Regions from separate parts of the Homo sapiens genome. Here all the other regions are linked to region 1. The links are contacts of gene promoters, found by promoter capture Hi-C in blood cells and fetal thymus (Javierre and others, 2016). All regions are on one chromosome and are shown on one strand. Each heading gives the region's core, a stretch centred on a gene start or on the middle of the fragment in contact. The rest is flanking DNA. Distances are from core to core; before and after follow the strand shown.

The links. The method cuts DNA at HindIII sites, captures the fragments that hold promoters and counts their contacts. A CHiCAGO score of 5 or more calls a contact.
Region 2: a contact is called between the fragment with the promoter of PSMD6 here and the fragment with the promoter of FHIT in region 1, in 1 of 17 cell types (total B cells). The highest score is 6.9, in total B cells.
Region 3: a fragment that was not itself captured here is called in contact with the fragment with the promoter of FHIT in region 1 in 2 of 17 cell types (total CD4 T cells and naive CD8 T cells); the score reaches 9.3 in total CD4 T cells.
Region 4: a fragment that was not itself captured here is called in contact with the fragment with the promoter of FHIT in region 1 in 3 of 17 cell types (naive CD4 T cells, naive CD8 T cells and total CD4 T cells); the score reaches 6.6 in naive CD4 T cells.
Region 5: a fragment that was not itself captured here is called in contact with the fragment with the promoter of FHIT in region 1 in 1 of 17 cell types (non-activated CD4 T cells); the score reaches 8.4 in non-activated CD4 T cells.
Region 6: a contact is called between a fragment that was not itself captured here and the fragment with the promoter of FHIT in region 1, in 4 of 17 cell types (non-activated CD4 T cells, total CD8 T cells, naive CD8 T cells and 1 more). The highest score is 6.8, in non-activated CD4 T cells.

The regions. Positions count from the first base shown.
Region 1 is chr3:61,248,728-61,253,022 of GRCh38, reverse strand. It overlaps FHIT (fragile histidine triad diadenosine triphosphatase), which reads left to right and starts at 1,571. Exons shown (of 10, transcript NM_002012.4): 1 at 1,571-1,722. It overlaps LOC124909387 (a long non-coding RNA gene), which reads right to left and starts at 1,431. Exons shown (of 2, transcript XR_007095939.1): 1 at 1,396-1,431. RefSeq lists enhancers at 1,474-1,768, 1,833-1,892, 2,023-2,152, 2,293-2,422, 2,703-2,982. The HindIII fragment of the contact is 4,935 bases long and covers 252-4,295 here.
Region 2 is chr3:64,020,648-64,025,138 of GRCh38, reverse strand. It overlaps PSMD6 (proteasome 26S subunit, non-ATPase 6), which reads left to right and starts at 1,645. Exons shown (of 8, transcript NM_014814.3): 1 at 1,645-1,864; 2 at 2,616-2,821. The coding sequence starts at 1,720. LOC105377121 (a long non-coding RNA gene) reads right to left here and starts at 1,064. Exons shown (of 3, transcript XR_940906.3): 1 at 988-1,064; 2 at 397-514. RefSeq lists a silencer at 1,437-1,536 and enhancers at 1,099-1,720, 1,687-2,036, 1,721-2,343. The HindIII fragment of the contact is 6,204 bases long and covers 1-4,429 here.
Region 3 is chr3:59,039,716-59,044,107 of GRCh38, reverse strand. All of the region lies in intron 3 of CFAP20DC (CFAP20 domain containing), which reads left to right. Among named protein-coding and RNA genes, the nearest start is that of CFAP20DC, 8.1 kb to the left of the region's middle. The HindIII fragment of the contact is 1,212 bases long and covers 2,026-3,237 here.
Region 4 is chr3:59,203,270-59,208,193 of GRCh38, reverse strand. The region is part of intron 4 of CFAP20DC-DT (CFAP20DC divergent transcript); the gene reads right to left. Among named protein-coding and RNA genes, the nearest start is that of CFAP20DC-DT, 120 kb to the right of the region's middle. The HindIII fragment of the contact is 2,070 bases long and covers 1,187-3,256 here.
Region 5 is chr3:58,300,436-58,305,039 of GRCh38, reverse strand. No RefSeq gene overlaps it. Among named protein-coding and RNA genes, the nearest start is that of RPP14, 3.5 kb to the left of the region's middle. The HindIII fragment of the contact is 2,909 bases long and covers 826-3,734 here.
Region 6 is chr3:58,491,361-58,496,174 of GRCh38, reverse strand. KCTD6 (potassium channel tetramerization domain containing 6) reads right to left here and starts at 4,079. Exons shown (of 3, transcript NM_001128214.2): 1 at 4,006-4,079. RefSeq lists a silencer at 3,779-4,428. The HindIII fragment of the contact is 482 bases long and covers 3,070-3,551 here.

The DNA of each region.
Region 1 (4,295 bases), core at 322-2,821:
AAAGCAACAAAGAATTGTATTACAGGAAATGACCCCAAATTGACAGAAGATTAGGCTAGGAAGCCTGAACAGGTGTTTTAATCTCTATGCACAAAATCAGTCTGTACATATATTGCTCACATTCCTGCTGTTTTAACTATATTTTTTTTTTCAATTTCACTTTGTTATTCACAATTTGATAATATTTTATGTGGCCATGGTGTCTGTGTGATGAACTATAATCCAATGTGACATTCTCTGAGAGTCAAGCTTCCAAGGACATCAGATTTTCACACCAGGACACTTTGTAGGACACCTTGCTACTCTCCATGGGATTCAAATATTAGAAATAATGAGAGATCTAAGACTTGATGTAATTGCCTGCATGTAATGAATCAGGCCAAATAAAAAAGTGAGAGACAGAGAAAGGAAATGGTGCTAAGGAAAATGGGGACCTATCTTAGTGTTTGTCTGAGAGAAAACTGCTCTTTGTTTTTCCCGATGTAATGGCAAGAGTCTGCAGCCAGGAATCTAGTCCTTGCTTAGGAGCTGCATGACCTTGTGAAAATTACGTAGGTGTTCTGCAATTTGTAATTGCATTTATTGTAAAATTAATTTTACTTTTCATACGTCACTAGACAGAGCATTTTGAGGTTAGGAATTGGGTCTGAATCAATGATTTCTCCAGCACCCACATGGCATTTGGCACAGAATACATCAATAATGATTTTGGATTAAACAGGGGAACAAGCACAAGGAACCATGGTGGTCAGAAACGGGTTGATCTGCACCAGAGAAAGGGAGACTAGGGGAGAAAGGTCACTCTAGATTTCGTTCAATTATTGAAAATACGGTGTATTTACTATGTGCTGGGCACTTTTCTAGGTGCTAGAAAGACTACAGTGACCAAAACAAAAATCCACATCTGCAGGGATCTTGCATTCTAGTGAGAAAGTAAGATGGTAAAAAAGATAAATACGTAAATTTTATACAATGCTTCGTAACGACAAATGCTAAGGAGAAAAACAGCACAGAAAAGACAGAAAGGAAAAGAGAAGGGGCGCATGTGGTGCAATTTTGTTAGGATGCCAGGGAGGGCTGAGCGTAGTCGTAAATGACCACATTATTTGATGGATCAAGCCAGGGACTGCAAGTCTGTGTTTCTGAGAGACACATAAAGAAAAGAAGGCTTAAGGAATCCAGAAAGATCCAGAGTGGGGAAATGAAACGAAAAGAAATCCAGCCAGTGGGAAGTCGTGAAGGGATAGTTAAACGCGTTTTGGGAGGAAAGAAAAAAGCAAAAGTGCGGTACAGCCTTTCGTTACACGTGAAAAGAATCATGTTTCTTTTTCTAGTTAGAAAAAGCCAAAGATTGTGCGATTTATGCCCCAAACCCCCTTGTAAGGGGATTCTCACCTCAACTTGTCTTCTGTGGTCAGTGTTTCCCGCCCCTGAATCAGGGTTACTGTCACTATGGCTTTCAATTGGCCCGGCGTAGGCGCATGCTCTGCGCGTATTGGCCTCCGCTCCTGTCCCCAGACAAGCGGCCATCTTGGGTCCCGCCCCTACCGTGGGGTCTTCTGGGAATTGCAGTCCCCGCTCTGCTCTGTCCGGTCACAGGACTTTTTGCCCTCTGTTCCCGGGTCCCTCAGGCGGCCACCCAGTGGGCACACTCCCAGGCGGCGCTCCGGCCCCGCGCTCCCTCCCTCTGCCTTTCATTCCCAGCTGTCAACATCCTGGAAGGTAGGGGCGGGGAGGCAAGCCCAAGTGGAATACTGTTTCTGGGGCGCGGGTCTGGGTTTCCACGCGCGTCAGGTCATCACCCCGGAGCCCAGTGGGGCCGGCGCCGCTCACGGGGCGGTGGGCTTCTGTCCCGAGTACTCTTCCGCCCCACGAGGGTCTCAGGGTGGGGACTCGGGCCCCCCAATTCCCAAGCACCGACCCTAGCCCTAACCCGTTCCTCCTCCACCGTGTTTATACATTGGGGAAACTGAGGCACGGGGCCACGCCAGCGGGTCCGGGGACGCCACAGCTCTTGGCTCTGGGGGTGTAGTCGGCACCCGCCGTTTTGGGATGGTTCGTCAGTTTCATAGACAAGTAGCGAAAATCCGTCCCAACAGGTCTGTGTTAAACACGCAGCTCTGGATTCCCCTAAGGGGTTGCTGAACACGTGCCCAGGACAGGAGCAAACCGGAGTATAGAGAAGGCAGCATTTTGGGAGATAATTTTACATTACTACTTCAAAAACAGGCAAAGAGGCATCGAATTTATTGTTGTGGGAGAACTCATCGGTACTTGGTCGGACTTTCTTACACTTATTTTATGGTTGTTGTTTTTATTTTTAGCGTCAAAGGGGGGAATTTTAAAGGTATATCCAAGTTGGTGGTGGTGGGGGGTAAGGAGGCAGGTTAGTGGAACTTGAGATGCATCTGCAGATTTCTCTGTAGGCTCACATTCTGCCCTCGCTGTGTTACCTTGGAACAGCCACTCACAGCGCTTATCTGGGAAACAAGGAGCTCAATGCTCCCAGGTCAAGTGGCCAAAGGATGTTGCCTGAAGCCGAAATCTAAATTGAGGTTATGCTTGTGAAAGTTTACCACTTGCAGATTTACTGCTATTATTATTCTGGTCTCTCAGAAATGTGCTGGGACCAATAGAAAATACTCACAGTGGTTGTTTTAGTAAGGTTCTGACCTGGGCCGGGCCCAGACTACCAAGGGTGGTCCCTACTCGCACCTGATGTTAAGCCGGATCTACCTGAACTCTCCCTCCTTGGCTTCAGCCTGCGGCCTGAGGCCTTGGCCGCGGAGGCTTCTGGGAGTTGCAGTCCCGCCTCTTGTTTCTCGTCGGGCAGGTACTCCACCTCGTGGCGTGCCATTTTGCACGGCGAGATGTCTCCTGGGAGACGAAGTCTCGCTTCTAGCCGTTCTGTAGAGCAGCCGCTTGACTCGGAACTACAACTCCCATGTGGACCTGCGTTCATGGCTGCCGGCCTGTGTCCACCTGCTGCAACCTGGACTAGAAATATTTAGTAAAGAAAGAAGTCTAGGGTTTGTGTGTGTGTGTGTGTGTGTGTGTGTGTGTGTGTGTGTGTGTGTGTGTGTGTGTGTTGTTATTGATTGCATATGCTGTTCTAAGTGTTAGATATGGGATTGTTGTATACGGTGTTCCAAGTATTAACGTACATGCTTCCAAAACCACTAACACTTGACCATTTAGAACCTGTTCACATGATCTCTTTTTAATACTACATTTCCCATTTGTATATGAGAAAAAACTTGAGAAGATAGCCCATGATTACACAGCTAGCAATATAATATATATTCAATAAAATATATGTGTTATAATTTAATCCTCTTAAAAGCTATATGAGAGTGAGAACCATTTTTATATCAACTTTACAGATTAGAAAACTAAGGCTAGGAAAGTTAAGTAACTTGTTCAAGTTAAAACACTGGTGAATAAAAGGACTGAGACTGTAAGCCCTTCTGCTTAACAGTCTCTGCTTAGAGAAAGACCTTACCTTACAGAGCTGAGGAGGAGTCCAACCTTTCTGGCTACAGAATTTGGAATCTTTTAATTATACCATGCTGCCTCTGTACTTAGATACTAAACATTTGAGCTGCAAAAACCTTTGAGATCATTTAATTCTAATGCAAAGATCTTGGAACACTTCTTGGCCTATAATAAAGATTCCATATATATATGTATATAGTTTTAGAATACCTTTATTTTAGAGATTAGGAAACTGGCCCAGGTGGTAAAGCAGTTTGCCCAAGGTCACACAGTTGGTTTGTGTCAGAGATTAGACTAGAACCAAGCATCTTATTTTCAAGTCCAGGGTTATTTTCATTCCACCAGCAGTCAGCTAGCAGGAACACCAGATGTGTAGCTCTTTAGATAATGGTTTCTCCTCTAATTTGCTCTTTCAAGGCCACAGACCAGGACCAATTGTTATAAATTATCTTATTTATTATTGGTAAGGTTGTAATACTTCATGAATTCAACAAATGTTTTTTGAGCTTCTTTATATGGTCATCTCTCTTAAGGTGCAAGGACCACATAGATGATAAGGACTTAATGCATTCAGACTGGAAGGACCTTATAAATAATCTAATCTAACTCTTATTTTATAAATGAGGAGAGTGTGTTACGAAGTAGTCTGCAATCTTCATCTCATGCCCTCATGTCAAAAGTATCCCGTTTCTGCAAGAAGGCAGGTTTCTGGAGTCCTCACAGTAGTGTGGATAACCTTTTTAGGCTTATGCTTTTCTATTTGGTATCCTTGTCTTGGCCTTTTTCCTGCAGCCTTTGAT
Region 2 (4,491 bases), core at 396-2,895, 2.8 Mb before region 1:
GAATGAATAAAACACAGTTTAAAATGTGCGAGTATAGAATGATCATGTTAATATACCCAGATGAGTTTTAAAGAAGCTATGCTTCTCTGGAATGTAAGTTCCAAAGACAGGGCTTTGTGCTCTTCACTGCTGAGTCCTTGAGGCCTAAGACAGTGCCTGGTACTTTGTAACCATGCAATCATGTTTGTTGAATGACTAAATGAAAGAATTTTAGAAAGTTTTTTACCAAAAGTTTAGCAGTGGTGGAGAGCTATTTAATAGTATTTTTTTTTTACTCTTCATATTTTCTCTATCATTTGAGTTGTCTTCAAAATGCTTGTTTCATTTTTATAGAAACAAATAATAGATTTAAATTATGTGATGATGCCTACTGCCTGTGAGATGTGGCAGTCTCACCTGTTTCAGCAGCTGTGTAAACTGGTTCAGCTCTTTTGGAAAACCATTTAACATTAAATATCCCCAAGTCACAAAATCCTTCTTCCCTTTGTCCGTTATTCCTTCATGGGATTTTATGCTAAGGAAAAAGATGCAAAACATGAAGTGATCTAGACATCCAAAGTCTTCATCCAAGTTTTTATATTAGGTAAGTAAAAACTCTGGTCAACCTAAAGACACCTCTAACAGAGGGAAGAGTGAAAGTAAATTATGGTAAATCCATTAGATGGAATTTAGGCCAGGCATGGTGGCCCACACCTGTAATCCCAGCACTTTGGACGACTGAGGCGGGGGAATCACTTGAGGTCAGAAGGTCAAGACCAGCCTGGCCAACATGGTGAAACCCCGTCTCTACTAAAAATACAAAAATTAGCCCGGCATGGTGGTGCAGGCCTGTAATCCCAGCTACTTGGGAGGCTGAGGCAGGAGAATCGATTGAAGCTGGGAGGCAGAGGTTGCAGTGAGCCAAGATTGTGCCACTGCACTCCAGCCTGGGTGACAGGGCAAGACTCCGTTTCAAAAAAAAAAGGAATTTAATGTAAAGATTACCACCTCTGAAGATCTGTAGCAATGTGAACAAAAGGAAGCTGAAAATGCAGGCATGTAATGATTTAATTTATGTGTAAACAAAACGATGATGCTGTTGTACTATGACGTAGAATCCTGGGTGCAGTTTTTTTTTCTTCTTAAAACCGCAGAAAGAATGTGGATTTTAGAGTTCTAGATAGGGGTTTTCATTTAGGCCTTGCGACATGGCTGTTACATGACCTTGGTTGGTCTGTTTCCCTAACCTCTTTGTGCCTCATTTGTCTTACCTACTAAATAGGCTAATAGTACTACCTCGCAGCATGAAGATGATTTTAATAAGATGAATGAGAGTAACGACTCGACAAACTATGGTGATTGTTTTTATTAATGCTGTTATTACATTTTCAGTTTTCAAAAAATTTTAAGCTCCCATCAGTTACAAACGGAAAGTAAAATAGCTAAAAAGGGAGTGAGAAAGAGATTCAAGAAATTGGGCTTTTGAGTTGGGCTGCACCCACTCTGGGACTCCGCAGGGGGCCTTGAGGGTGGAAAAGCCCCCGTGACCACACAGGGGCGCAGGCGCCCAGGCCGGGTGAGGCGTTCCCGGAGGTGTCCAGCAGAGGACGCTGCCGGCGGAGACGGGACCGGAAGCCGGGCCGCAGGCGGCCGGGCGTATTCGCCGACTCCTCCCGCTTCCGCTGCCGCAGCCGGTCGTAACCAAGTTGTGTCCTGTCAGCCGCTGTCCCCTTCGCCGCGATGCCGCTGGAGAACCTGGAGGAGGAGGGTCTGCCCAAGAACCCCGACTTGCGTATCGCGCAGCTGCGCTTCCTGCTCAGCCTGCCCGAGCACCGCGGAGACGCTGCCGTGCGCGACGAGCTGATGGCGGCCGTCCGCGATAACAGTGAGGCCCGCACGAGCGCCGAGTCAGCGGCCTAGGCCTGGGCCGTCCCCGCGTTCCGGAGCCTGCGGGGACTTTTTTTGATGGAGCTCCAGACCCCTCTGACGGGGTCTCAGAGACCAGGCCTGGCTTCTCCGGCCCTTAGGGTTTTGCTTTGGTTTGGGGATACCCTGGGGGACCTCGACTTGCCTCAGCGGGGTCTGCATCTCTCTGTGCCGCCTTCCCCTGTAAGGGCAGCTTGGGGGAGAATCGTGAGGCATTAATATTTACCCCTGTGCTAGGCACAGAGTAAAGGCCCCGTGACTTTCTGTCAGTGGGGACTGCTCCCGGGCGCGGGGTATTCCTGTGGGAGAGTTCAGCTTGCCTGTGGAAGGGAAATTTGGGTTCGGTTCTTTCTGGCCCTTCTGTAGTGAATGTGTATGTTTGAACATATGTATGTGAGTATGTGTGTATAAAAAGTCTTTCCCTGTTTGAAGACTTTTGGAACAGAATCCGGCAAGAGCAAACCGAGGATTGCCCTCCCTCCAGCCCTAGTAGAGGTTGGCATTGCCAGGATTGGCCGTCACGCAAACCTCCCACCAGCATACGTTTATGTTTTGCCAAGCCGATTATTAAGCGCCATCGCATGCCTTCCTGTTAGTGGGGAAGAGACTGGTGGATGACTTGTGGCGGGGCGGGGGGTGAAATACGTGGGCAGACTTTGACTTGAGGGCACAAGTGTCCCCACTCACACATCCCTCTTTTTGCATGTTAGACATGGCTCCTTACTATGAAGCCTTGTGCAAATCCCTCGACTGGCAGATAGACGTGGACCTACTCAATAAAATGAAGAAGGCAAATGAAGATGAGTTGAAGCGTTTGGATGAGGAGCTGGAAGATGCAGAGAAGAATCTAGGAGAGAGCGAAATTCGCGATGCAATGATGGCAAAGGCCGAGTACCTCTGCCGGATAGGTGACAAAGTGAGTAGAGATGGTTTTCCCTCTCTGTAGTTAGTATAGGCTAAAATTGGAGACTATTCCAGGTAATCGTTTCTCATTAAAAAAATTAACTTCGTTTTAGAAAAAGTATAAAGGTAATCATGCTTGCTTGTACTGGTGAATCAATGTAAAGATGAAAAAGTCGTCTCCATGAAATGCCTTGTCATTTCCCCAAACAGCAGCTAGGGCTGTATTCTTCCCCATTTCACCCCATGCCGATAAAAACGTAAGTGTACATCTAGAGAATTTTATTTACTGCTTTTACAAAATTGGGATCATTTTCAGCAGTTTTCTCACTTGGTTGGGAAGCACTGGTTCTGGTGTCTTTAGTACTTTACACGAGTAATACTTAGCAGAAACTAAGAAACAGTATAGTAAATGCTGAAGTTCTGTTATCTTTCTTTACTCTGTACCTGCCCAGGGATAGGCTTTTCAGTTCTTTTATTGTGCATTTATGCAAACTTTTTGGTAATTTTTTTTTTTTTTTTGAGACGGAGTTTCACTCTTGCCACCCAGGCTGGAGTACAATGGAGTGATCTTGGCTCACTGCAACCTCCACCTGCTGGGTTCAATCGATTCTCCTCCCTCAGCCTCCCGAGTAGTTGAGATTACAGGCGTGCGCCACCACACCCAGCTAATTTTTTTGTATTATTAGTAGAGACTGGATTTCAACATGTTGGCCAGGCTAGTCTCGAACTCCTGACCTCAGGTGATCCACCTGTCTCGGCCTCCGAAAGTGCTGGGATTATAGGCGTGAGCCAGTGCACCCGGTCATAAAATCTTTTTTACGTAAAATTTTATATGTAAAAGAATATAAATGCTCAATGAAAGAACCAATTTTTAAAAAAGTTAATACTTGCAGAAATTTTTAATTCTACAGAATTTTTTTTTTAAGTACATAGGATCATAGTGTATTAGTGTAGTCCTGTTTGCCCTTTTCATTCAGCATTATATTTAAGAGGTCTTTTCCATGCCAACATACATAAATCTGGCTCATCCTGGTTAACTGCTGCCTAATGTTCCACTGTAGAGCTAGCTCTGGCATAGTTTATTTGCCTGTTCAGCTGTTGTTGGACATATGTGTTGTTTTCATCTGTTTTTGCTTTAGCAAACTGCTGCTGTAAAAATATGCTTATGTATGTCTCTGTGTGTATATGCTAGTGTTTCTCTAGGGTATAGTATATGAAACAAAATCGCCGGGACAATGAACAGTTTTTTTTTTTCTTCTTTTTTTTAAATATGTGTGGCCAGTTGTTCTGCATAGCAGCCAGCTTACTCCACCATCAGGGCACCAGAGGGGTACTCACCATTACTGGATCTTTGAAATTTAATTGAGTAACTGTGTAATAGTGGTTAAGAAAATGGGCTTTGAATGTTTTTAATTTTAAATTATTTGCCTGGAAGTATTTAGGTATAGAATGACATGGTGCCAATATAAAAAATAAAAATAACATGAGCTCTTGAATCAGATTGTCTGGGTTCTGTTTTCAACCTCGGTAATTATGATTTATGAAACCCTCGGTTTCCTCATGTGTAAAACAGGAGTACTGATAGTTTTTACTTAATGTGGATTAAGGATAGGAAAAAGCTTAGACTGGTACCTAGCACATAGTAAGTGCCTAAATGTTGTTTTGCAATGTATATCTAAAACG
Region 3 (4,392 bases), core at 1,382-3,881, 2.2 Mb after region 1:
AGTAATGAAATTAAGTATGTTTTTTGTTTTAAAAAATAATATTTCTGATTTAACTTGTATTTGAGGATCTCAAACACATAAAATAAAGGAAATTGTGATATTACTTATCAGAATTGTGCACTTCTCTAGGGCAGGGATCTTCCTGAATCATCTTCTTTGTACCCTTAACTCAGTGCCTGGTACATGGTTGGTGTTCAATAAGTTTGTTAAATTTGCCATACTATGAAACTATGACAATTTGGGTCATAATTTTTCATTGTAACCAGTTGGCCTTGATAATGAGACTTGAGTAAACTCTTCACCAGCTAAATAAATAAATCCCTGCTGCTCTTCACTCTGGAACACATTATGTAGAGTTGCCCATATGAGGAGCAGCTCTGTCACACATAAACATATGTCATTTGGAGGGTCTTCTTCAGAGCTTTCTGTTGGAGGCTCATGTTTGAAACCATTGTTTTCTCTGCCTGTGGCATCTGAATCAAATGATGTGTCTCGGGGGAGTAGCATCCCTGAAGCCTGGCATTGTTCTGCATTTCAGCTGCTCTGGAGGATGAGGTCACCTTTATGAGGTTTCCCCAGGCCTCCTCAAGCCCCCACTTTAGTATCATTTTTATCTTGTCATGACTTCCTCTGTTTAAAACCCCTCAGTGGCTTTGATCTGCCTCTATTTTCCTGAATCCGGTGGACAGTTCTCAGCCCTCATCTTACTTCACATATTAGCATCATTTGAGAAAGTTGACACCTCCTTCTTATATTTTCCTCACTCATACCCAAGATGTCCATACTCCTAGTTTTCTTCCCATTTCACTGTTCTTCTTTCTTAGCCTCCTTTTGTGGTTCTTCCTCTTTTCCCCAACTTGAATTAATGTTGCAGCGTCCCTGGACTCAGTCGTTGGCACTCTATCTACACTTACTCCCTTGGTTATCAGCTTCCAGCTCATGGATTTAAATGCCATCTCTGTCTTACTCTAGCTTACATTTCCAGCTCAGACTTCTCTCCTAACTCTAGACTTCTTGAATATCATCTTACTTACTTGACATTTCTACGCTTGGACAGCTGAAATACAATATGTCCAAAGCCTAACTTCTGGTCTTTACTCCTCGAAATTCCTTCTCCTGCAGGCTGCCCCATTTCTGCTGTTAGCAACTTATCTTTTCAGTTGCTTAGAAAAAAAGCTTTTAAATCAGCTTTGATTTTTCTTTCTCTTCATTCAGTCTATCTGGAAGGTCTTGTTGGCACTATGTTTAAAATAGGTTGAGAGTCTGATCACTTCTTGGTACCTCCAGTGCTACTGGCCAAAGCCACCAGTATCTCATGCTTGGATTATTGTAGTAACCTAATTGGTCTCCCTGTTTCTGACTTGGCCTCTGTATTACAGTCTATTGTCAAATTAGCAGCCAGAGTAATACTTTTAAATTGTAAGAAACACATAAGTAATGTTACTCCTCCACTAAAAATGTCCCATCTCTCTCAGATTAAAACTCAAAAACCTACAGGACTCTGCAGTATCTGGTGCCCTTCTTAGTTCTGACCTATTTCCTATTACTCTTTTTCTCGTTCGTGCTTTTGCAACCATACAGGTCCCATTGCTGTTTTGAAACATAGTCCAGTGCACTATCACCTTGGCACCCATGCACAGACTGTACCCTCTACCTACAGCATTTACCCCCGAGAATAGACATTCAGTAAATCTTTGTCGAATAAATGAATTAATGTACGAGGGGTTTACCATTGATTTTAGGATGACTTATATTCTTCACATGGTCTTCAAGACCCCACATAATTGGTTTCCTCTCTACTTTGCCAAACCCGTCTCCTGCTGCATTTCCTCTTCTGTCTCTCCTATCAGCCCATTAAGCCCTTTTTAGGTTTATCCAATCTACTCCATCCTTTTCCATCATAGGATGGAGTACTCCCTCTGCCAGCAACGTTTGTTCCTCTCTCCTACACCCATCCCGCTTGCCCAGTCAATTCCTGTGTATTCATCCCAGCTGAGTTTCAATGCTTGTCCTTCAAGAAAAGCTTCACTAATCATCCTCTTCTCCTGCAAGGACCCAGGGTTATATGCTTTCATAGCACCCTGACTTTCTCCTTCATGGAGCTAGAATATAAATTCTAAAAGGTCAGAGAGCATGTATGTCTTATTTACTGCAAAAACTTCAGCATTGAGTCTTGTACGTAGTAGGTGCTCAGTAATCTTCGTTGCATGGTAGACCTAATTTAATCCATATAAATAATCCTATGAGTTGTAAATCTAAACTATTAACCCAGTTTTTACAGATGAAAAGTAAAAGGGCCCACACAGGTTTTCTAATTTGCTCAAGGGATATGGAATAGCCCATGATGAACAGATAACTAATTCCTGTTTTGTGTGTTGAAGTGGGAGAAAAAAAGTAGGTAGTTTGTTTCTGACAGACAACAGATTATAAAACTGTAAAAAGCTGCATATTTCAGGAAGAAACTAAATTTTTATGAATTTTATGTACTTGATGGACATTTTTGACTAACAGAATTTCCACATTCAACATTACTTAGAGAGAGTGATTTTAAATATAATGTAGACATGAATAGTCAGTTTAAATATACTAAGCCACTGGAAAAAAATGTTACTATAGAATTTATTTAGCATCTGACACACAGGATCAGTCTGTGTCAAATGTTATTAAAGTACTTTTTTTTTGTCAGATCATCACCATATGGTATCATAATATTTCTTTTAATCTTAGAAGTGAAACGTTTTGGAAACTGGGGCTTCTATATGTGAGAAAGTTGAATTACAAAACTTTCTTTTTTTGAGGGTAAGAACTCTTTTATATCTAAAAATGCTCATATAAAAATGCCCTATGTGTGTAACTCTTTGTGTTTGAAGAGAACAGTGCTGATTCAGTGAGATTTGTGACATAAATTAGGGACCTTTTTTAAAGACTGATTTCACTTATCCTGCTGTTCTCTCAGCTCTATTTACAGAGGCCATTGTGCAATGGAAAAATACTGTGGGGCCAATCAATGCAAGATGCAAGAGAGATTCATTGAGGATGGTTTATTTAAGTTGGCCTCATTTTGGTATCTCACTTTGCTTTTGTAGACCAGAGCTCTGCTTGCCTCACTGGCTTTTCCCATAAATATGGTAAAGTCAGATTTCTAGAGAATTTTCTAGGATCAAGGCCTGTGATCTCTTATTTCTGTTACATTGCTTACACTACTGATGGCCCTCTGGAGAGTACTAAGCAGAAGCTTAGTACTTTTAAGTAAAGGTTATCCCTGTATGTTTGATAAAAATGTTATGCATATTTGATCAAATATGTTTATTGTTTAGAATGTAAATCTGGGATAAAACATAGGAACTGTTATAAGTTGTTCAGGAATGTTGCAAAATGGGAATCATATACCAGAAGTTCTTTATATAGACTATCCAAAAACGTGTTGTTACTTTAAAATCCCTTAATTTGTTAAGCGTACTAAGTTGGAATAATATAAAATAGCATGAGTTTTAGACTAGTTGCCTTTTTTTTGTCTTTAATCCACGTGTTGGTCTGTACTATTGGCTTTGTAGGAGAGGTTCACAGATAAATCAAGACATCTCCATTTTCTACCCAAAAAGTCCCACAGCAGGAAAATATGTTTGTAAATTGCATGTTTTAGGAAGTGTCATACTAAAAACATCTGTTAAGAGCACCATAATTGAGAGATCAAGCAAAAGTTCAAAACCTAAGAGGAAAGGCATTAAGTGAACAGATCTGGAGAGGTAATATAAAATCAATTGATTTTTTAAGCAGTTGTAGAATTTAGCTGTCAAAAATGCTGTAGGGACTGGTTTCTCTGCAAATATTTTTAATCCAGATGAAGCTAGTAATAGGGAATAAAAGCTATCAGTTCTCAGTGAACATTAAATTAATTAAATATATGTTAATTAACAAAAGGTTTAAATGAAAATATGATCCTCTATTCATCTCATTGTGGACACATTTAAAACCATATGAATTAGCTATGGCTCATCAAACCTTCAGTTGTAGTTGTCATAATTAGAATTGTTTTCTTGATCTATTGTTTTTTATTAAGTTGTTTAGTACAGTTAAAACTGCCAGTGAATAAAAATAATTGCCACATGCTTTTATGGCTGCCTTGAATGGAATTTATAGTTCAATTTTATATGTCTCTGTTGAATGCAGTTCTATGTGTACATTCTCTTGCAACCTAATAAAAATAATAAAAACTTATTATTTTTGAAATTTTAATAAAAATTTCACGAAGGCCACAGATGGAACTTTAAAAGACATTTGTTGTAAGTTTGATTTTATTTTCATCAATTTTTTTTGCTTTCGTAATGAGGTTGTAACTCATAGGTAGTGCTATTTGCAGTTCTATGTATTACTGAAATGCTAAAATCTTCA
Region 4 (4,924 bases), core at 972-3,471, 2.0 Mb after region 1:
TGCCATGTAAGGTAACATATTCATAGGTTCCAGGGATAAGGACATGAATATTTGGGGCAGCCATTATTTTGCCAACCACACTCTTGAATATCACCTGGCCACTCATGTATCTCCAGTCTCCATATCTGTAAGGCATCGTTCTCCCTACTTCCTGGATGACCATCCTCTGCTCAAAAACCCCAATCGTTTCCCACTCACTGAACACCAAGCTGCTTAGCTTGGCATTCCTGTCGAATAACTGGAAACACTCATTTACCAACCAAATAAAATAATAAAAGTAGTGTCTAAGGGAGACCTGTGAAAGGTGAAGACGAGGCAGAGGTGAAGGAGCGATGGGTGGGAGGCAGTGATCCAGAGTTGAGTTGAGAGGGGCAGACAGCCACCCTGTGGCTTTAGAGCCAAGCTCCATCACTGGGAGCTGTGACATCGGAAAGTGACATAATCTCTTTGAGCTCCAGTTACTTTGCCTATTGAAAAGGGGACAATAGTAGGACCTGCTTCACTGGATTGTTGTGTCAGTTAATAATACACAGCAAGCATTTATCACAAAGTAAGCATTCAATAAATGTTAGTTCTCTTTTCTCAGTACAAGAAAAAAATAAAGCAGTAGAATTATAGTAAAAGATTCAGGAGAACCATCTAAGGAATGCAGAGGTATTAAACTTCAGACTTAGTTTAGGATAATTGGTCTTTCCACATGGGTAGAAGATGCCATGTTGCTTCTTTTTATGTGTGACCATATTTCTATAAAGAACTAATGAAAAAATATCATTAGCAATGAATGTTTAATTGAAGAATTAAAATTTAGAGAAACAGAGCCTAAATGGATGTGATAAGTATGGAATGAAAGTTCTTAAACATGTGTGTATGTATGTTGTATAATATCATCATTAAAAACTGAATGATATTCATAACCATTGAGCATTAGAAAATTTGTGAATTATTTATTTATTCATTCAAAAATACTCATTGAACTCAGTGAGATGTAGCTTAAACACTTTAAGATACACCATGTCCTCTTGGAACTTACATTCAAGAGAAGGATGAAAGATAATAAATACGTATAAGTGAACTACTCTTCTCTCCAAGAATTTTTTCACAGGCCCTTAATAAATGAAGCATATATGCCGTTCTAAATTATATTCTAACTTCATACATTTTTTCATATTAAAGCAGGAAGAAAGCTTAAATATTATATCAAGATAAAATCTATAAATAAGGTAGGAAGTCTTAATAATCCATTACTGTTAAGAGTATTTGCACACATTAAAGTATACTTCTTATTTTTATACCCCCACATCATTCTTAACATGTTTAGAGATAGCTAAAAGAAATCCATTAATGCAACAACATAGAACCAAAGAAAGAGAAAAAGAAAAGAGAAAGAGAGAGAAAGGAAACAGAAGGAAAGGAAGGACAGGAGGGGAAGGAAGGAAGGAAGGAAGGAAGGAAGAGGCTAAATAAAAACAACAAGAAGGAAATAAGAAGGTTCCTGGAACACATTTCTTTTTGTAAAAGGTGCTGAAGATTTGGTTCTGAGCTACTTAGCAGTGAACATGAAGATGAAACATAACTGTTAGCAATAAGCATGAGGTTCTAAAAATAAAAATAAGCACGTACCTGAAGAGAAGTACATCTTTATTTGCTTTTGAGCCCTAAGGGGAATCTCTTCCATAGATTCTCTTAATCGCTGTAACATAATATCTTCAATAACATACAGTAGTGAGCTGTTAGATATTTCACAACTGGGTTTTGGGGTGTGGGGCAGGGTGCTGATTCGATGCACTATAGTGTGAATACTTCAACCTTGGCCAATTTCATGCTACCAACATGACACCTCTGAACTTGCAGTTGGACAGTGGCTTACTTTATATAACATTTCCTTCACACTAATACAATAGTCATGAACAACCTCAAGAGCATAGTTAAGAGTAAAATGTAGTCAAATAATTAGGAAGTGATGCATTTTACATATTTATTAACTTTCTTTTTGATATAATGTATTTAATGGTAACTTCATATAATTTATTTGTTAATAATGGCTTAGCAACCAGATTGCACACCACTGAACATCCTAGACTACATAGTACATTTCTCATGGTTATTCCTTTAAAGTTCCTCAACGTAGGCTTATGGTCCAACACCAAAGAGCAATTCAAAGGGAGTGATTTTATGAAGGGTCAAAACCATGCAGTCCTGCAAGATCAGCAACATCCAAGAATAAAATGGTAAAAGTTTAGATACAATCATTTTAATGATGGTGTTCTCAATACAATGGATGGCTGCAGGTGAGTGTCAGTGAAAGGGGTGGATTTCCAGCCAGCACTTCAAGATTGACACCTACTCGCTGTGCCACAGATTACACACAGCCAGCACCCTCAGCCATGCAAGTGTGTTGCACCATCCATGCTTTCCTCTGCTTCTCTGTGAGCAGAAAGCCTGGACGCTACTGATCTTGAAAAATGGATGGAACAGAGACCCTTTGGGCATTCATAAGTGTGAGTATAGTTAAGCCACTGAGCTTGGTAAGACCAGGGTAATGGGGAATTTGAGCGTATGTCCTCTTCCAGGAGCCTGGAAGATAAATCTTCTAGTCAACTGGATGCAGGCAGAGAGAGTTAGCATCCTCTTATGAAAGTCAAGGAATATCCCAAAACACCTGCCTGACCAGAAGACCGCCCTACCTGTGCACGGAGGGCAGCTGAACTAATATATGTGACCATAGCAGCGTCCTGTTGGGGACATTTGCTATAGGCTAAATGTCTCTCTTGAACAAGACATTCAAATGTTCAAATAAATCATATGTTTGGGGAAAACAGTCTCAGGAAAATTTAATTCTACTACCACAGTTTCATTGATTTTTTATGTTCCTTTACTTTTAAAAGACATTCAAAATAATTAACCCTGGTGGATTTTGACATTCGCTGTCCCTTAGAGTACTATCAACTTTAATTAGATTCTAGAAATGAAGTAACAATATCTTATCAACAGAAAGACATTTTGAGGATGGTAAAGTCAATATCAGATACGACTAACTTTAAGAAAACATTAAAAGCCGAATGTATAAAACAGATGAATTAGCAGGATATAACTTACGTTTCCAGAATTATTCCTGACTTTACAAAAGCATTCACTGCAGGGATCCTTTAAATAGCAGATTCGTTTTGTGCATTTGAAATATTAACTAATTTATACAAACTCCATTTTGAGGATGTACATATGATGTTAATCTAGGCACACTGCAATCAGCAAAGCTTATCTGTTCTACATGTTAGCTGTGTAATTGGAGGCAAGTGTGAATTTCTCTGATACGTGGTTTTCACATCTCTACCTGCACAGAATACCACTCAGAGTTGCTGTGTTAAATATATCTTATTTTTGCAAGTGTTTTATATAAAGTTCTTTTGGAATGTTCCTTGTTCAGGAAGGATGAAAGGGTTCTAGTAGTTACTTAGTGCCTCACATATACCAAGTGTGCTCACATACATTGTTTTATTTTCTCTTCACTGCATTGTTACTGAAGTCTCATCATTACTAAATTAAGACACTATGGGCCGGGCGCGGTGGCTCACGCCTGTAATCCCAGCACTTTGGGAGGCCGAGGCGGGCGGATCACGAGGTCAGGAGATCGAGACCATCCTGGCTAACACGGTGAAACCCCGTCTCTACTAAAAATACAAAAAAAAATTAGCCGGGCGTGGTAGCGGGCGCCTGTAGTCCCAGCTACTCGGGAGGCTGAGGCAGGAGAATGGCGTGAACCCGGGAGGCGGAGCTTGCAGTGAGCCGAGATCACGCCACTGCACTCCAGCCTGGGCGACAGAGCGAGACTCCGTCTCAAAAAAAAAAAAAAAAAAAAAAAAAAAAAAAAAGACACTATGACTCAGAGAGGACCTTGCTCCAAGTCACACAGCTAATCAGCGACAATGCCAGAATATTAGGCTTGGTCTGTCTGACTCCAAATATCACTCTTCATTCTGCTGCATCACACAGGTTCAAGTGCTTGTTCTGTCACTACTAATAGTGTGACTTGGGCAAATTAATGAACCTCTCTGAAACACAGCTTCCTTGTCTCAAAATTAAGATGATAAAATATCTAACCTGAGAGCGTCGCCGTGAGGACTGAATGAGTTGATGCACATAAAATCCATGGCACTATATCTGACCAACTAAGTACCCAATATGTGTGGATTACTTAAAATTTTTGAGCCCAAACAAAATCTAGCATGCTTGCCAGCATAAATAGAATTTAAATATTTATAGATGGAAAAGAATGCTTCTTCTAAGCAGAATCTGCAATATCAAAAGAATATGATTCCTGATAAGACTGAAGTATTTCTACTGTGTATATCAGATGAAAGCAATAGATTCTGTATCAGTAGTCCAAAAACTGGATTCTTAATTCAGCTGGGTCGTTAACTAGGAATTTAACCTGAAGCAAAATTTCTATTTCTGTTTTCTTTACCATCAAACAGAGATAAAAGTATGAGAAAATAACAGAAATGGGAACAACATAGAAATCTAAGCAGTGCTGACTTTTCCCTTCCCAAAAATGGCAGAGTAGCTTATTTGAAATGAAACTTACTGCTATTAACCATTAGTAAGGCTGAAGAAAATTAAAACAAGGAAGCAAACACCTGTCAAAGACATCAGAGAGCTGCTCAAATAGGATTTATAGGGCCAAGATCTTAGAGAGAGGAGAAACCCAGAATATTGAACTGGTATTTGACACCGCTTTTCCCTTTGAGGCATTTGCAAATTTTTAAGGAACAACTGAGATGAGAAAAACTGTGCAGAAAGTAGTGTCTGAAAGGCTGTAGAGCTGAGAGTATACTGAAATTTCACCAGGCTTGGGAGAGGGGGTGAAGAGGGGATTGAGTTCATACAGGAGAAGAGGCTCAAGTGAAAACCTGGGTTTTAAGTTGTT
Region 5 (4,604 bases), core at 1,031-3,530, 2.9 Mb after region 1:
TTTTAGAGGTAGAAACTGAGGCACAGGCCAGGCGCAGTGGCTCATGCCTGTAATTCCAGCACTTTGGGAGGCTGAGGCGGGCAGATCACTTGAGGCCAGGAATTCGAGACCAGCCTGGCCAGCATGGTGAGACCCCCATCTCTACTGAAAATACAAAAATTAGCTGGGCACGGTGGTGCACACCTGTAATCCCAGTTACTCGGGAGGCTGAAGCAGGAGAATTGCTTGAACCTGGGAGGTAGAGGTTGCAGTAAGCCGAGATCACACCACTGCACTCTAGCCTGGCAACAGGAAAAGAAACTGAGGCACAGAGAGGCTAAGTTATTTGCTCAAGATCACAGTTATAAGCAGTGGCATGGGCTGTCTGATTCTAGCCAGTGCTCTCCATACTGCACTGTATTACCACCAATTGAGGGGCTGCAGTGGGAAGGGAAACTTTAGTGTAACCCCCATGAGGATGGGGCCTTGTCTGTGTTTCTCACCACTGCATCCCAGTTCCTGGTACCCAATGGTGACCCAACATCTATTTACTGAAGGCATTTGTTCATAAATGGATGTGCTGGTTTTGCTTGGGTTGGGGGGCAAAGGGTTGCCTTGCACAGGACAGTTGAGTCAGCGGGGATCTCCTTCCTCAATTATTTTCTCAAAATCCCACTGTGTTGTTTCCAGAAGCTTCAGTCCTCAACCTTGGCCATGCTCTCCAGTTCTGTGGTTCCTACTTTCTTCTTCCTTCAGAGGAGACAGGGCTTGTTCCAGATGTGGGAAGAGGTGGAGAAAGCAAACACAGACCCCACAGACCCAAGTATTATCTTTCTCAAAAAAGCTTGATTTCAGAAGCTGCCAGAACTTGCTTCAAATGCATCCTCTGCCACTTACCTACCTCCCTCATCTGTCACATGGAGAGATTATTAGCATCTACCTCACAGAGTTGAGGGAAAAAGAGTTGATGGTATAAAGTGTCTGGCACCCCAGGAAACCCTCAGTAATGGGAGAGGGTTCCTGTAAGCCAGCTGCCTGGCAAATGTATCCTGCCAGGTGGCCCAGGAAAACCAGAGCAATTCCTGTATTTTGAACTTCAAGGAACAATAGATAATTTTCACCCTGCTGCAACAAACCCTGAAAATGAAGTGTCTTCCCAGTTGCCTGAATTCTCTCATGCTGTCTTATTAATTCAGAGCGGAGGATAAAAGAGATGCCTTTGAATGATAAAGACAAAAAACTTGTTTTTTGGCTGGGTGTTGTGGCTCAGGCCTGTAATCCAGCACTTTAGGAGGCCGAGGTGGGCAGAACACCTGAGGTCAGGAGTTCAAGACCAGCCTGGCCAACATGGCGAAACCCTGTCTCTACTAAAAATACAAAAATTAGCTGGGTGTGATGGTGCGCACCTGTAATCCCAGCTACTCGGGAGGCTGAGGCAGGAGAATTGCTTGAACCCAGGAGGCAGAGGTTGCAGTAAGCTGAGATCACGCCACTGCACTCTAGCCGAGATGACAGAGCGAGACTCTGCCAACAAACAAAACAAAACAAAAAACAAAAAAAAACTTTTGTTTTTCAACTAAATTTTATATTAAAAAATCGTTTTTGGACAGTGTCTCACTGTCACCCAGACTGTAGTACAATAATGTGATCATGGGTCACTGTAGCCTCAACCTCCCAGGCTCAACCGATCCTCCCACCCCAGCCTCCCAAGTAGCTGGGACTACAGGTGCATGCCACCATGGCCAGCTAATTTTTAATTTTTTTGTAGAAACAGGGTCTCACCATGTTGCTCAGGCTGGTCTTGAACTCCTAGGCTCAAGCGATCCTTCTGCGTTGGCCTCCCAAAATGCTGGGATTACAGGTGTGAGGCACTGCACCATGCCTAAATTTTATCTTCTGAATAGGTACTGTAGGCTTACAGCATACATTTCAAATGACATAAAGGGATAGATATTAAAAAGTGAGTCTCCCTTCCACCTCTTCCCCTGTCAGCCTCTCCCCTCTCCAGGAGCAACAACTAGTATGAGTTTCTTAAGTGTCCCCTGAAAAATATGATATGGGGGCTTTTACCTCTTGACGATGTATCTAAAATTGCTCCAAATCAAAACACACAAGGCTGCCTCAGTCTTTTTTTCTTTTTTTTTTTGGAGACAGGGTCTTACTCTGTGGTCCAGGCTGGAGTACAGTGGTGCAAACATAGGTCACTGCAGCCTCAAACTCCTGGGCTCAAGTGATCCTCCTGCCTCAGCCTCCAGAGGAGCTGGGACTACAGGCATGTGTCACCACACCTGGCTAATTTTTTTGATTTTTATTTTTAGAGAGGGGATCTTGCTATGTTGCCCAGGTTAGCTGCCTCAGTCTTTATGAAAGTTACCCTGTACTGCATTGGGTGGAGCCAGTTAGTTCTTAAGAGGACCATTTCAGGTACCCTCTGTGTTTCAGAGCAAAGTTGTTGGGGTCGGTCTCTATTTTATGTCCCTGAAAGGTACGGCAGCCAAGAATGAGTTAAGTCCACACTTCCCCTCTGCTGTGTGGCTCCCCTCCCTGCCTTACTTATTGGTGCCAAATGGATTTTTCTAAAGCTGAGGAGCTTTCTCAACTTGGGGAAGAAAAGGCAAGAGAGAAGGGTCCAAGTGAGATTCCAGTCCCCCTGTTCTCCATTGATTTAATGGAAAACACCCCCTATGTCAGCAGATTGTGGAGATAGGACAAAGGAAGTGAAAATGATCAGAAGTTAAAACCTATGGAACTGTAGCCATTGTTTCTGTTTCGAGAATAAGATCACATAGTTTAGGGAGATTTGCCAAGTACCAGCTAACTTGCTCACATTATTCCATCAACCATGCAATGTCACTATAATTACCACTTTTCACAGATGAAGAAAATGAAGCTAAGTCATTTATCTAAGGTGGTGAGAGGCTCCAGAGCCTAAAAAGCTGCATTCCATCCCTCCCATGTGGAAGACCAGTCTGGGAGCTGCTCCTTTGAGGCAACTCAAGTGTCATCAACTCAAGCGTCATCTCCAAACAAGAAACTCTGAAAAGCAGGCAGTGCTTTAGAATCCCTAGAAGCCAAGCCTGAGAGAGAGACCCTCACGGAAGTGATTTACTGGGAGATGGCCCCCAAGTGAAATCTGTAAGGGAGGAGGGAAGCAAGATAGGGCAGGAGAAGAAGCCAAGCAAAGATGTGGATTTGAAACCGGTCCAATCATCCCACAGAACTGATGCTTACGGTTTCTTTTGAGTATATGTAGAGATTGACCTTCTCATCTTAAAATTTGAGAAGTTACATTTGTCTTATCTGAGTTCCTTTCTCAGTAAACCAACCATGAGGCTTCCCAGGTAGTATCAAGGAGCTGAAACTCACCAGATCACTGCATTTGGACAATGACAGTCCAGACCCTTCACCCTTCATGACTGCCTGTCTCCCACGACCTGCTTTCTGTTGACCAACTCCCCTTCCTTATCCTTCCCTGATTCCTGTTTTCCTGCATTTGTTATATTTCTGCTGTATAAACTCCTAATTTTAGTCAGTCAGGGAGATGGATTTGAGACTGATCTCCCATGTCCACAGCAGCAGCTCTCAAAGAAAGCCTTCTTCCCTGGCAATATTCATTGTTTCAGTGATTAGCTTTCTCTTTGGTGAGCAGCAGGACCTAGAAGCAACACTTGGTGTTTCAGTAACAGATTCAGCTGAGTCTAGCCTCAGCTGGATCCCATGGGGAGTCCTGGAGCATAAATGATACTAAGGAAGCTTCTAGGCTTTGAGGCAAGGGGGCCAAGCCTTCTATAGGTGTCATTGGCTGCTACCTATAGGGTTGCCAGATTTAGCAAATAAAAATATAGGATAGGCCAGGCACGGCGGCTCATGTCTGTAATCACAGTGCTTTTGGAGGCTGAGGCAGGAGGATTGCTTGAACCCAGGAGTTCTTACCCGTATGTATGTGTGCAAATGCACAGAAATCCCAGTGGACTGACTGATGGGGGAAGGGTGGGGCTGTGCAGAGGGTGTAAGAGACTTTCATTTTTTCAGCAATCTTTTTGTTTGATTTTTTTTTTTGAGACAGAGTTTTGTTCTTGTTGCCCAGGCTGGAGTGCAATGGCACAATCTCAGCTCACTGCAACTTCTGTCTCCCAGGTTCAAGCTATTCTCCTGCCTCAGCCTCCCAAGTAACTGGGATTACAGGCATGCACCATCACACGGGGCTAATTTGTTTTTTGTTTTTCGTTTTGTTTTGTTTTGTTTGAGTCGGAGTTTCGCTCTTGTTGCCCAGACTGGAGTGCAATGGCCCGATCTCTGCTCACCTCCACCTCCACCTCCTGGGTTCAAGCAATTCTCCTGCCTCAGCCTCCAGAGTAGCTGGGATTACAGGCATGCGCCACCACGCCTGGCTAATTTTGCATTTTTAGTAGAGACAGGGTTTCTCCATGTTGGTCAGGCTGGTCTTTAACTCCCAACCTCAGATGACCTGCCTGCCTCGGCCTCCCAAAGTGCTGGGATTACAGGAGTGAGCCACTGCGCCTGGCCTAATTTTGCATTTTTAGTAGAGACAGGGTTTCTCCATGTTGGTCAGGCTGGTCTTTAACTCCCGACCTCAGATGATCTGCCTGCCTCGGCCTCCCAAA
Region 6 (4,814 bases), core at 2,061-4,560, 2.8 Mb after region 1:
ACAGTCATAATGGGTTTGTAAAAATTCTCCTGAGGCCCCCCCACCAAAAAAAGGCAGGAACCCATTCAACTAGTGTGAATAACGGTTGCTGTCCTGTCTGTAGTGACATAAAGAACTCCAATCCGTGAATATCCAAATGATTAAATGAGAAACAGAAGATCAAAGACAAGGAAAAAAGCAGACATCAATGTTGCAGCCGTTAACGAAAAGTCTGTCCACTATTAACCCTTTTTTTCTTTTTTACTGCTAAATCAAAACAAGGTAACTTCTTGAGCAGTTATCTAAAAAAAAAAAAAAAAAAATTAGACGATGTCCCTGAATCTGTTCCACAGCAAAAGCAAAAGTTCCGGTACAAAGATGTAATGAAAGCTCACGCTTAATAATTCAGGAAAGCAATTATGGGAATCTACAGCCCATGTTTCTTAAAAACCACCCAAAAGCCTTCCTATACTTGTGTATAAGATACATCAAAATAAATTGAAGCAAAGTTACTATTAGTCACTTCCAATAACAATGAGTAAACTGTCTAAAGAAATCAAATTGTGCATTAAAGAGTTCAAAGGGAAAAAACAGTATTGATTAGTTTAAATTTTATCTCTACCTGCTTCTAAATATCTTCTGTGGAGATGCTTAAATACAGCAAGAAACAAACAAACAAAAAAAAAGCATGAAAAATTCCCTGTTATCCAATAGCTGGATAATGATCGGCTTCTGAATTCTGAATTGACGACCATTAGGAACATCTCTGAAACGATGCAGATGAATGAAATACAATCCCAAAGAATTTCCAGAATAGTTTCAATCTCTTCTACTGAATCATTTTCCAGAGCTACTAACAATTAGAAAATGATTCATTTGCTTTTCATCTTCTCTCCCTTCTGGCACAGTCTCCAGTGGAGGGCTTAATGAGAAGTTAAATGACCACAAGACAGGCAGCAGAAGGAAGATCTTGAAATGGGTATCAAATAGGCCTATTTTACTTGATGAAAGCAAAGAAATATCTAATATTTCAGAAAATCTACCAGGAATGGTAACAATAAAAAATTTTTCCTTTATAGTGACTTTCCTTACTAAAACTAAAGATGGTTTTGAAAGACAGCAAATGCAACCGAGCACAAACAGCTATAAAATTCAAAGAAGCCTCTGACCCTGAAAAATCAGTTCACCTGAAAAGATGTAACCTTTGATGCAAATAAAATTCTTGTGAAAACAACACTGCCCACTCCCCAAAGAATATAAAGCAGTGCTGAAAATTCAACCATGTTTAAGCTTCAAAGGTTATTGTGACTAATGTATAAATTCTGACAGTGTCATGTTAGCAGGTAATTAAGCTTAAGAAAACACATACTGAAGAATTTATAGAAACCTTAAAAGGAAGTATTAATTTTCTAAAGTAGCATATCTGAAGAAATGCATACATAATTCAGTAAGTTAATAACTTAAAAAAATAACCTAAGAACCCTTAAATGCCATTCTCCCTATCACTGCAGAATTGCAATTACAGGCCTAATGGTTATGATGAACTAACTTAACAAAAATATTCTGGGTTTATCATTCCTGCTATAGATTAAGAATTCTCCGGGGCAAAAGTCCTAATCCTATATAACTACCTATATGTTGCAATAAAAACCTCCAACGAATAATAAAAAACTCCAACTACTGACTTCCCAGAGTTTCCAGGCAGCCCTTTAAAAATGCTTTTTTACTGAAACCTTCGTGTCTGGTAGTCAGAAAAGACTCAATAAACTCCCTCTTTCTATACTTACCTTCAAAATTGCCTTGTATTGAGTTTTGCTCTTCTTGAAATGTGGGAGTTTGAAAGCGAAATACTTTTTATAGTAACTAGTTCAGCGACATCTAAAGGAGTCTTTGGGGTTAACATTCACATACAGGCCAGCATAAGTAGCCAGGCATACAAGGATAATGTGATTATGGTTAGATTATCCTTAACCATACCACTGCAGAAATGGATTTTTCTCTACAAGTAATCATTTTCTCTTTCTCCTTTCTCAACCATGTGGTCTAGAAGAGAGAAGCTATAGGTTTAAAAGTGACCTAATATTAAAAAGCTGTCACAAATAGTCACAAAATCATAACATTCCTCTTAACCCTCAGTTTCCGCAAGATAAAACGGGATAATACCACCTTCCCAAAACGGGGTAATTACACCATTTAGGCACAACACAAAGGCAAAAATTGGCCTATAAGAGTAACACATCAGGACAAGGAAAGAGAACAGGTTCCCAGGGAGGTCCTGTAGTTGAATTCTGCTCCGTTACTGATTATGAGACCCTGAGAAAATCACTCTTTATGCCCAGCTTCTTCTTTGGGGAAATGGAGAAAATAAGGGAGATCATGAATATAAAACCATCTGTAAACTAGCAAGTATTAGACAAATGTGAAAACATTAGTGGCAGCAGCATAAACAAAATTTCTAGGTTAACATGAGAAACTTGAGTGTGAACACAAGTAATTTAGAGCATTGGCCTGGAGACGGCAAATATGGAGGAGGCAGCCTCTTAATTTGCTTCAAATCTCCCCAGGTCCTCCTTTTCCCAGAGCTCCAGAAGGGAGAACTATATACAGGTAAAGGGGAGTGTCTAGTTTTCCCAGAGTTCACCAAACACCTGAGCTCCTGATCTCAGAAGGAACTTCTTTAAAGCATGACTCGGGATTATCTCCAAGTTAAAGCTGAATCCAAATACATACAGGTACTCCATTTTAAATGGACCCCAAATATCAAAATCCAAGCGCACTGAAGGATTCATAGGGTTCACCCTAAGATTCCTTTAAGTAGTAATGCTTTGGTTAAAATATGATTTATGAAAATTCAAATCACAAAACTTTGGAATGGCATCCATGGCTATCCTGACCACTCCATCGTTCATATCTAAGGCATAGCACAAAATCAAGTATCAGTATGGACTGATGGTTTCGGCCAAAGAGAAAATACTCTCAACCTACCAACCCTGCTGACAAACACATTTTCCTTTTCCTAGCTACATATTCGTTCATTTGAAAACATCTCAATCTTGGGCTCAGGACTGTGCTACATGCTGTCCCCAAGCTTCTCTCCTATCCCAGGATGATTCAAGTAATAGGGCATTTGTGACAGCGAAAAAAAGAACATGCCAGGGGGATATAGAAGAGATACTTAGGCTACCCCAAATATTCTTAGCCGAGCCGGGTCATCCCAGGTCACTTTGCCACCCAAACCTCTTCTATCACAAAGTCCTAAAATTGGATCCATCAACTTGTTCTAGAACTGGTATACTTGAACAGAAACATGGTAACTTCGGCAGAATATCCAAACAGGATCTCTGTCACGTTTCATTTCCCCGTCCCACCCCCAGACACAGCCTCCACCACTGTCAGCCCAGCAGGTGCTGCCAGGGCTCCCCATTACCATGGCCATTTATCACCTCTGACATCAAGCATTAAAAACGCCACCACACACACACAAATCTAGGCATAAAGAACTCAGCTGCGATCTGAGAGTCTCTTCAGGGCAGAAAATCCCAAAGGCAGGGTTTTGAGTCCTGCCTCAAGCTTTAAACTAGGGCAATTGGTGGCTAATAAGCGCCATCTCCCAAAAACAATCATTTTCGAGCACACCCCAAATATCTCCGTCCGGGCCGCCCTTCGCTGCTGCCCCGCCAGCGAAGCCCCCGCAACCCGACCCGGCCAGGGGTAGGGCGGGCGATGCTCCGGGCCCGGACGAGGGGCGCGCCGCGGGGCTCCGAACCCGGGCCCGCAGAAACCGCGCATCCCCGCCGGGCGGGCCCCGGAACCCCCGCCCAGGCCCCGCCGCGGGCACCTCCGCTGCTGGCTCGTGCCAGCCCGGGACGCGCGGTCCCCTCAACGCGGCCCCGCCGCCGCCCCGTTCCAGGAGCCCCCGCCCAGATCCTCCTCAGCCCCGCTCCCCTGGCCGCTCGGCGCAGACGTCTCCTGAAACCCGGCCCTCCCAAACCCCGGCCCCGCAAGCCCCGCGCCAGCCCCACTCACTGCGCGGCGGCGGCGGCTGCTGCGGCCGGGCCGGGAGATGCCCGCGGCCGGAGAGCGCGAGCGCGGGGACAAGCGAGCCCGCGCCCGGCGACGGCGGCGGCGGCGGCGGCAGAGGGGACGACTGAGCCCGCGCCCGGAGTTGCGGCTCCAGCTGCCCGGCGCGGGCGGCGCCTTCCCAGCAGAGCCGCGGCGCCACGAGCGCGGGCGCCCCCTAACGGCAGCGCGGGCTGGAAGCCAGAGAGCGGGCGGCCTGAGGAACTCAGCCAGCGCAGTCGGAGCCGCGCGGTCAAGACCACACGACCGCAGCCCCGAAGCCCCGCCCCGAAGCCCCAGTCCCGCCCCTTAGGCTCCGCTCCGAAGCCCCGAAACCCCGCCCCTACGTCCCGCCTCCGCCCGCAGCCTGGGGTCCGCCCAACCCCAGGCCCACTGCGTCCTCAGGGGTGGTGCCTCCACAGCTGTTTCTCCTTAGTCATTTCACGAACTTGTATGGGCCCCCCACTATATCTCAGGCCTGGGGGTTTAGGAGATACAGCGGCCACCAAGACGGAGGCGGGTCCTAATCAAAGGAGAAGACAGACAAGACTCAAGGAAACAGCTAATAGACAAAATAATGACAAGTTATGGCCGTAAGTGTTGGGAGGGACATGATTAGAGGACTTAGATGGAGAAGAAGGGAAGGGAGCCCCTGCTCCAAACGCAGTGGCCGAGGAAGACCTGGACCCCGACCTGCGGCCAGAGCTCCTCCTGCCTGCCCTGCATTGGGGAGACAACCCTGCGATGAGGCCTGTGAAGAAGCCCCCGGGGCCACC